Linked DNA regions of Homo sapiens: region 1 is linked to region 2. Evidence: promoter capture Hi-C in human tissues and cell types (Jung and others, 2019). All regions are on one chromosome and are shown on one strand. Each heading gives the region's core, a stretch centred on a gene start or on the middle of the fragment in contact. The rest is flanking DNA. Distances are from core to core; before and after follow the strand shown. Region 1 holds the start of VPS39 (VPS39 subunit of HOPS complex). Region 2 overlaps TTBK2 (tau tubulin kinase 2).

What was found. The method cuts DNA at HindIII sites, captures the fragments that hold promoters and counts their contacts. A contact is called where the count stands out against the background at its distance.
Region 1: a contact is called between the fragment with the promoter of VPS39 here and a fragment that was not itself captured in region 2, in 1 of the 25 tissues and cell types used here (dorsolateral prefrontal cortex).

The regions. Positions count from the first base shown.
Region 1 is chr15:42,207,022-42,211,696 of GRCh38, forward strand. VPS39 (VPS39 subunit of HOPS complex) reads right to left here and starts at 1,283. Exons shown (of 25, transcript NM_015289.5): 1 at 1,060-1,283. The coding sequence starts at 1,132. It overlaps VPS39-DT (VPS39 divergent transcript), which reads left to right and starts at 1,380. Exons shown (of 3, transcript XR_932181.3): 1 at 1,380-1,663; 2 at 1,743-1,896. It overlaps TMEM87A (transmembrane protein 87A), which reads right to left. Exons shown (of 20, transcript NM_015497.5): 20 at 3,426-4,675. The HindIII fragment of the contact is 8,677 bases long and covers 1-4,675 here.
Region 2 is chr15:42,913,663-42,918,722 of GRCh38, forward strand. All of the region lies in intron 1 of TTBK2 (tau tubulin kinase 2), which reads right to left. Among named protein-coding and RNA genes, the nearest start is that of TTBK2, 4.6 kb to the right of the region's middle. The HindIII fragment of the contact is 6,776 bases long and covers 1-5,060 here.

The DNA of each region.
Region 1 (4,675 bases), core at 33-2,532, 710 kb before region 2:
TAAAGAGACCCAGAGCTGCTAAAGGAGGAAGGGTGCACATTAACATGAAAATTCTTCGTGAAAGAACCCTACAGAAGAAGTCATCAAGAACTCTGCAAGGATGACTCGGTGACACTGTGAACAGCTGACGCACATGGTATCAGACACCACCAAGATTCCATAAGGCCCATCATGGTTACCTATCTAGCTCAGTATAAGATCTGATTAAGGGATCTGAATCATCTTTTTATGGTCCTTGATTTCTAGGACCTAAACATTAAGAGGAAAGTTAGAAATGATTTCCTTGGTCTTTGGCGGCTGGTATCAAACCAGTCACTCACGGATAAGAGCACAATGTTCACCGTTATCCCTGAAACCTTCATTTGTATTTCAGAGCACACAAGAGATGTCTGTCCCGGCCTTCTGCACTAGTCAATCCCAAAAGGACTATGCTAGTTTTTATGGGTTAGGTTTCAAGACAGTCTGGAAACTCTTCCGCCTACAGTTAGGTAACTTGGACACTTTGGATATAAGGTAATCAACCGCTTGGCTAGATTCAAAGGTTAGCTAACTACATGAGTTCCCTACAGGAATGAGAAATGAACGAATGATCACTAAGGGGAAAAAAAAGCATATGGTGTTAACTTGTTCAATGCCCCCAAAACCAGGGTTGACTTTCATCTAGAAAACAACACAAACATCTGGACAACTTCAAGCCCCTGGCAGGCTGAGAACTTCTTACTGCTTTGACCCTCTAAAATGAAGTCTTCGTGGGAATCAAAATGGGCCAAAGCTGAGCACAACTAAAAAGGAAAGCTCATCCTCCCACTCTGCACAGAGAGCAAAAGCAAGGGGAACTCCCCTAAATGACTGGATCACTGGGATCACCCAAGTAGCCCCACAGACATCGATGTCTATAGCCGGTGGTCATCTCTCTGCCTTCTCTCATCCTAAGCCCCTCTCGTGTAGCATCCAACCGAAGCCCACACGGATGGACGCCTGTCCACTTCCCCGGCCTCAGAAAAGATCCGGACCGCTCCTGTGCTGACTCCGCCTCGGCCCCGCGGCCCCTCGGCTCACCCCAGGCAGCCAGACAGTCGATTTGCAGAGGCAGCTTTTCTAGGATCGGCACTGGCTCGAAAGCGTCGTGCATGGCGGCAAGGGGAGAGTTGCCACCGCCGTCTCGCCCAGAGTGTTCCGGGCCGGGCTGGGGTCCGGAACGAGTCTGGGCTAAGGGTAGACCGGGATCCGGCCAGGAACCCCCCGGCTACAGGCCCTTCAACAACACAGCCATCGTCAACCCCGGACTTCCTGCTAGTTAGGCCCGCCTCTTCCGCAGCCGAAGTCCCGCCCCTTCCTCCCGGTGCACTCTAAATGAATTGTTTTGTTGCTGAGTTGCCATCGTCACTCTGGACCCATAGCTACTCCATCCCGAGTAGCCATGGGCTTACCATAGAAGGAACAAACTCTTAATCTTAGAACTGCTTTAGGCAGTGGGCGTGATGGTTAAAAACTCGGCCTTTGGCGTCGACCTCAGACGGAGATCTACCAATTAGGAAATTAGCTGTGATTTAGAAAATTTAATATTTCGATGCCATACTTTCCTAATCTGCAAAATTTTTGTAAATACCTGTGACCTAGTGTCGTGAGCGCTTAGCAACACCTGACACCCACTAAGCTCTCAGTAAGTGGTAGCTTTAGTATTACCATTATATCCCAATTAGTACAAGCACCTTACCTTAATGCTTTCATGGTTGTTCTAGGCCAGTGGTTCTGAAAGTGGTTCTAGACCAGCAACAACAGCAGTAGCAGCAGCACCTGTGAACTTGTTAGAAATGCAAAGTTTCAGGCCCATTCCAGTTCTACTGAATCTGAAACTCGAAGGGAACAGCAACCTATGTTTTAATAAACCCCAAGGTGAGTCCATGCACTTAAAAGCTTGAGAACCACCATTTTAGGTTAGGGTTGTTCAGCGATAGCACTACCGGCATTTAGGACAGGATAATTTCTTGTTGGGGGAGGGGGCATGTTCTGTACAATGTAAGATGTTTAACAGCATCCCTAACTTCCACCCACCAAATGCCAGTTATCTTCCCCACAGAGGTATAAAAATGTCTCTTTTCCGTATGTCCTCTGGGAGGCAAAATTACCCTGAGAACCACCATTTGAGGCCAATGCTTTTCAAATTTAACGTGCATACAAATCACCTAGAGACATTGTTAAAATGCCTCTTTTGATTCAGTAGGACCAGAGTAAGACCCTCAGTTGAGCACCAAAAATCTCCCAGATGTTGCTGGTCCCTGGATCACATTTTGAGTAGCAAGAGTTTAGGCAAGAGATGATTCACTAACTCTTGGAAGTCAGTGAAATAAGCCTCCTTTTAATTTGATGACCACATTCCTACCAATTCAACTTTCCAAAGCTGTGTCTTACATCCTAATATTCCTTTAGGAAGGTGTCATGGCTTTTCCTCCTATAGGACCTGGGACCTGTACTGTCTGCGGTTACCTTAGTATTCCCCTTGAAGACTTAAAAAACAACAAAGTTTGGGCTGCAAGAATGATCTATATCTGGTCATTTCCCCCTAGGAAAACATCGTAGGTCAAAAAATTAAGCATTTGGGTTTAAAGCAAAAATGTAAAAGAAAAAGGGTAAGTCTGTGATATGAAGTCAAAAAAACTGGTCCTGGTCATTTTATTTTTACACAATATCAGTTTCTTCATATGTAAATTAGGAATACTTGTCCCATCTTTACCAAATGCTGTTCTGATAATCAAGTGAAAAGTACTTTCAAGTAGTCAAAAACATGAAAATTGCTACACAAATCCTGTGTTATAGCTGATTTTCACCATAGAAGCTGATCACCTTCTTAAAAATTTAGAATTACCAGCTGTTGTGCTGGAAGGTCTAGTACCTTTTCGTTCAGGCCCAAAACCCTAAGGTTTATATTGTTTTACAGATTACTGCAAAGCTATCAATTTCTTCTGAACCTAAGAAATGACACACTATATCTATTCCCAGTAATACAGAAAGCTGTAAGTAGAATTATCAGGGCCCAGGCTATAGAACTTGAACTATACACTCCCGCTTAACACAATGGGCTTTTTTTTTTCCTAGTCTCAAGTCAACATCAAAGCAGCCTAAAAAAATAATTTGACCAACTATCCTGCTGCATTACAACTATTATTCATCTGCTACGTTTTAATATGCAATAGCAGCATGCAACAATACCACCAGCTTTTGGCTAATGACTTAGCATGAGAATATAGTCAGTTCTTCAGATTGCTGTTCCTCAGAGATACTTCCTAGGAAACTTTTTTAAAAATCACCATAGCAAAGAGTTGTAGAGAAACTACCTAAGGGTTAACACTTTCACTGCAGTATGAGTTAGTGAAGATTGTGGTCATGTGGTCATTGGTTTTAACAGAAAATAAGACAATCTAGAATAAAAGCCATAGAAAGAAATTTTTCATGAGTTTGACAGAAAGAGTCTTTAGAAAAAGTTTGAAAAAAATGAGAAAAATACATTAATTTTGTTAAATTTTTTTATATTAAAAAGTGGCATGAACTTTTTATGTAGAACAAAAATCTTGGGAAGGCAAAATTGGATAAAACCATTAAAACAGAAATAGAGTGCTTCAAATGAATCCCATCACCTTGTGATGTCCCTTATTAACAGTCTCTAAACCAATACCAGATACCAGAACAGTCCATCCTAAAGAACGAGCAGCAGTCCAGGGCCTCCACGCTACTTCATGCAATAACTGTTTAAATTAAGCCAGCAGGACCTGTTTCCTTTGTATAAGCTACAACTTCTGAAGCATTACAGTTCCTCTAGCACGGTGCTCAATCACAGCACTTGGAGCACCTCTCTGCATAAAGGCAAACAAAACATTGCCTAAGGACCCTGCAATGCCACCCTTGGAGGCTTACAAAACAGTAGTTAAAAGTTTCGGAGTGTGCACCACATTGCCAGCAATGGGATGTGTCACAATAGCAGATGTCAAAAGAGTTAAGCTAATATTTCTCTTTAAAGTACATCTGAAATAGAAAAATCTTTAATATACACCATTTGTAAACAAAATTGCACTTGATTTTGCTTTTTTAAATGATCTGAATCATACTGTAACAGTTTCTCTTTTTTTTTTTTTCTTTTGATCATTGATAGAACTATGGCTCCTTAACTCAGAAGGGCCCTTTTTTCTCAAAACAACCTCTGCAAGATGTAACCTTGACTTCCCAGGAAAATGAAAGGTAGTTAACAATTTCCCCCATCACCTATGTAACTCCCTAAATAAATAAAAATTACAGGCAGTTGCTCCTGGAGATTACATATTATGGTGTTGATGACAATCTTTTAGAAGACGTTAAACTTTTTAGTTTGTCAGATTTAAAAAATGAAACATTACAGAAAGTTCAGGAACAACACACTTAAGTTGCATGAACATCCATGTCAGAGTCTGGGAGGAAAGGGGGCAGCAGTGTTGTAAATAAGAAGCTCGTAGATTTTTCTCATCTTATGAACTTGTTTTCAGTAAGATGTTCTCTTTGTTCTGACACCTCTCGCCAACTCCAATGCCCAAAGATCAAGGAACAGATCAGGATGTCATTGCTTCCTTTAATCCCATGGAGCCGTACAGAAGACTGACACAGATGCTGATCTCTTCCCTGATGGTAGCCATCTTTAACTGCAAAT
Region 2 (5,060 bases), core at 1,352-3,851:
TTACAGGTCAGTATGGTTACAATTACTGACAACAAAAGTGTAAACAACCTAGTTTTCCTCTCCCTGGCTACCATACTAGCAACACATAAACAAATTCTTCCCTTATAGGAAGTACAGTATAACTTACATGACCAGATTGTTAAGGAAAACACTACACATTCCTTGGGTAAACAAAATCATTCCTCGGGTAAAATCTACTATAACCAAATCAACCGAGCAAAGCATTATGTCTATGATCTTCCCACTAACACAAAGAAAAATCAATACAGAACCTTTTCTGTATCTTCACTGCAATAACATTTTAAGTATATTAACTTCCTTTTTTTTTTTTTGAGATGGAGTTTTGCTCTGTCACCCAGGCTGGAGTGCAATGGTGCTGTCTCGACTCACTGCAACCTCCACCTCCCGGATTCAAGCGATTCTCCTGCCTCAGCCTCCCAAGTAGCTGGGACTACAGGTGCGTGCCACCATACCCGGCTAATTTTTATATTTTTTAGTAGAGACAGGGTTTCACCATATTGGCCAGGCTAGTCTCAAACTCATGACCTCGTGATCTGCCCGCCTCAGCCTCCCAAAGTGCTAGGATTATAGGCATGAGCCACCACGCCTGGCCTTAACTTCCTTTTTCAAAAACAGCAAAACTGGCCAGCCACAGTATAATATAATATATCCTAATATATTATATCCTAATCACTTGTACATTTAATGAATCACCGATAAGCTGCTGGACCCTAGCTACAGAGACACTATAGCCATCTACTTGGAACACCTCTTTCTTGTAACCATGGCTTGTACTCTGGCTTCTGGTAACACAGTCCTAAGTTCTCATGGTTCAAACAGAGAGTGTAAAACCATAACATAGGAACTCTGTCAGTATTCAAGTAATTGAGGCTTGGGAGAATCCAAAGTAGAAACCCATATTGGAGGGAGAGTGGGGACTCTTTAGGACAAAACTCTTTCAAGTGTTCTTGTGTTCTGAAAGAACTTGTCTAAAGCTGTTTCATGGGTTGTGTGGACATTTAATTTCAAATAGTCTTTTAAATTTAAAAACATTTATTTTGTCATTATTTATTTAATTATTTAACTAATTATAGGGATAATATATCCACTAGCCTCTGACTCTGGTGAAGTATGTAGAATGAACTGTGGCTGATGAAACAGAAACTTCTTCCCTGAACCCACCTCTTGACTGTTAGGTCTGTTAAATGCTCATGTCTGCATCTTCCCTTCATAATACCTGGAACACTTGTAATTCCTTCTCCTGCAAATCTCTGCTTCCACTATTTGTAAGCTCCAAAAGTGAGTAGATTATTTGTCTTGTTGGCTGTTAAATCTCCAACCCCTAGCACAGTAACATGGTAGATGCTTAGCAAGTATTTAATCAAGGAATGAGGCTACTGTTACACAGTAATCCCCCTTATCCATGGTTTCACTTTCTGCAGTTTCAGTTACCCGTGGTCAACCACAGTCCAAAAATATTAAATGGAGAATTCCAGAAATAAACAATTCATACGTTTTAAATTGTATATTGTTTTGAGTATGGTGATGAAATCTCAAGCTGTTCAGCTCTGTTGCACCTAGGACGTGAACCATCCCTTTGTCCAGCATGTATCTGCACCGTCTGTGCTGTTTGTCACTTAGTAGCCATCTTGGTTGTTAGATCACTGTCTCAGTATAGCAGTGCTTGTGTTCAAGTAACTAACTCTTATTTTACTTAATAATGGCCCTAAAACACAAGAGTAGTGATGCTGGCATATTACGATAACTGTTCTATTTTATTAGCTATTGTTATTATTCCCTTACTATGCTTAATTTATAAACTTTATCACAGCCATGTATGTATAGGAAAAGCATAATTATCTATAGGGTAAGGTACTATCTGAGGTTTCAGGCATCCACTGGGGGTCTTGGAATGCATGCCCCTTAGATGGGGATGACTACAGTAGTTTAAAGTTTCACAGAGACCAAAGTAAGGTGGTAGCAATGGAAATAAAATGCAGAGGGCTAGGCATTGTGCCTCATGCCTATAATTCCTGCACTTTGGGAGGCTGAGGTGGGAGGATTGCTTGAATTCAGGAGTTCAAGACCAGCCTGGGCAACATAGTGGGACCCCACCTATACAAAAAATTGTAAAATTAGCCAAGTGTGGTGGCACATGCCCGTAGTCCCAGCTACCCAGGAGGCTAAGGGGGGAGGACTGCCTGATCCCAGGAGGTCAAGGCTGCAGTGAGCTACGATCATGGCACTCCAGCCTGGGCAACAGAGCAAGACCCTGTCTCCAAAAAAAGAAAGAAAGCAGAGGTTTTGTGTGGGTGAGATCCAGGAGAAATAGGGAGCAAAAAGAAAAAAGAAAAAAGAAAAGAGAGAGAGAGAATGTGTGTTTTGATCCTGTATGACTAAATGATAATGCCTTTATTTATAGAATTAAGGAAGTTAAAAAGAGAACTGACTATTATCTTGGATATGTTGAATTTTTTAAGTGCTAGGGAAGTCCAGCAGAAATGAAGTCCTAATCTAGTTTATTATCTACCATATAATTTAGCCTCCAGATGATTTTTCTTAAATCAAATTTCCATGAGAGGCAAGGCTCACATTTTTTTCTTTGGTTATTCATTTTTTCCTATTTTCCTCCCCTCATCTTCGCCTTATTGGTCATTGAAAAATGTTTTTTGTTTTTGTTTTTGATACAGAGTTTCACTCTGTCACCCAGGCTGGAGTGCAGTGGCACAATCTTAGCTCACTGCAACCACCGCCTCCGGGTTCAAGCAATTCTCCTGCCTCAGCCTCCCAAGTAGCTGAGATTACAGGTGCATGCCACCACATCCTGCTAATTTTTCTATTTTTAGTTGGGATGCGGTTTCGCCACGTTGGCCAGACTTGTCTCCAACTCCTGACCTCAAGTGATTCAATTACCTACCTTGGCCTCCCAAAGTGCTAGGATTACACGTGTGAGCCACCACACCCGGCTGAAAAATGGTGATAAAACTTTTAGATATTTTTGAAACTGAAGCACTTGGAGGATCAAGAAATTTAAAAAGACTTTACAAACTTCATCTATAATATATAACGTGGAAAATTCAATGTTGGAAAAATATGAACAAAATATAGTCTTTCAATGATCATATGGCTAGAACAAGATGATGGAAACTGCAACTCCATTTTTTTAAAGGCAACTACTTTGAAACTGCAGAAAGAAAAAGACAAATATAAAAATATTAATTATAAAACCATTTTGGTAAAAACATATATAATGGCAAATATGTTTTCTAATTCAAACATTTTAAAATGCTGATTCTTGTTTTCAATAAAGATGTTAATTCTCTGTTTAAAAAAATAATGATTCTGAAAACATGGTTAAATCTCGATAGCTTACCAAAGGAAGCTAAGAAGCTACTTAGTAACTTCCACTCTTTAGGAGGCACTATTACATCCCAGATTCTTTTCAAAGGACACTTAAGTTTTTCACATTGGGAAGCTTTACCCTAACTGAAGTGAAAGCAAATTCCTATATACAATAAAAAACAGCTATAAACACTCCAAAACACCAAGGATTATAGAGACAAAGGTTAAAAAAAAAATCACAGGAAAAAAAATCCAAAATGTTCACAAAAGTTTGTAAGTACTATATGTTCACTTAAGCATCAAGAATAAAGTCACATGACATTAATGAAAATATACTAAGAAGGCTATTTAAAAATAACCAACTGAAAAGAAGAAACTATCTAGCAAAATTGACATTCATATTATGTTATAATATAATTTCAATCTGTATTATAAACCTATAATCAAGGATCACCAGACTTTAATGAGGCAGTTTTGAGTAGTAATATGTGTTGTCCTTATGCTCAAAATTTAGTTCTAAAAAACTGAATTTTTTCATATGACCTTAAAGGCTCTTTCACCAAATATGTACGATATTTAACTTGAAAGCTTTCAGTACTTTCGGCATAAAAGGTTCTATCCACTGAAGCCTGGGGAAAAAACTTCCACTACCACACATTGTTTACAATATGCTGGATGACAAAAAAAAAAAAGACTAGGAAATAAAACTAAATAAAATGTATTTAATTTCAAAAATCCATAAATATTGAAGGTATATTGCAATATTACTAATCAAACAGAAATAGCTCCAGCTACATTTTGAGTGTCTCTCAAAAACCTCAATAAGAACAAAAAATGAATACATGACTAGAGTAATTTTGAGTAGCATACCCTCAAATTGAAAACACTGTTTGCTATATATTTGTAAAAGAATATTTCCTATAGGATTTTTTTTTAAGTGTGGAAAGAAGTAAGCTATAGCTATATTTTCCATAATTCTCAAAGACTTTTTATTTTACTGATCAACACAGTCCTTACTAGATCAATAATGATCCTAAACACTTTCCCTTGTCATAGATTTGTATTTATTTATTTATTTATTTATTTCAAGAGATGGGGTCTTGCTCTGTCACCCAGCCTGGAGTGCAGTGGAGCGATCACAGATCACAGCAGCCTCAACCTCCGATCCACCCCCTCAGTCTCCCTAGTAGCTGGAACCACAGGTGTGAGCCACCATGCCCGGCTAAATTTTTGTTTGTTTTTTGTAGAGACAGGATCTCCCTGTGTTACTTAGGCTGGTCTCAAACTCCTGGGCTCAAGCGATCCTCCTGCCTTGGCCTCCCAAAGTGCTGGGATTACAGGCATGAGGTTTTTTTTTTTAAAGCAGCAAACATTTATTATCTCACACAGTTTCTCAGGATTCGAATCTGAAAGTGTCTTAGGTAGGTGGTTCTGGCTCAGAGTCTCTCATGAGTTGCAATCAAGCAGTCATCTGGATATGTTACTTTTTAAAGTTATAAAGCATATAAAAAAGTGGCTGCCCCCCACCAAAGTGAAATTTAAATTCCATGATCACAGCTAACTCGGATCTGTAATATTCATTTACTTTGAAAAACCAATAACTTATCATTGCCACATTTTTAGTGCACTTTTTAGAAGTAAAATACGCTCGAAAATGGTCTAAATTATGCAAACTTCCCTTCTAGTATTACATTTAAAGATACTTGAAGCCCCACATA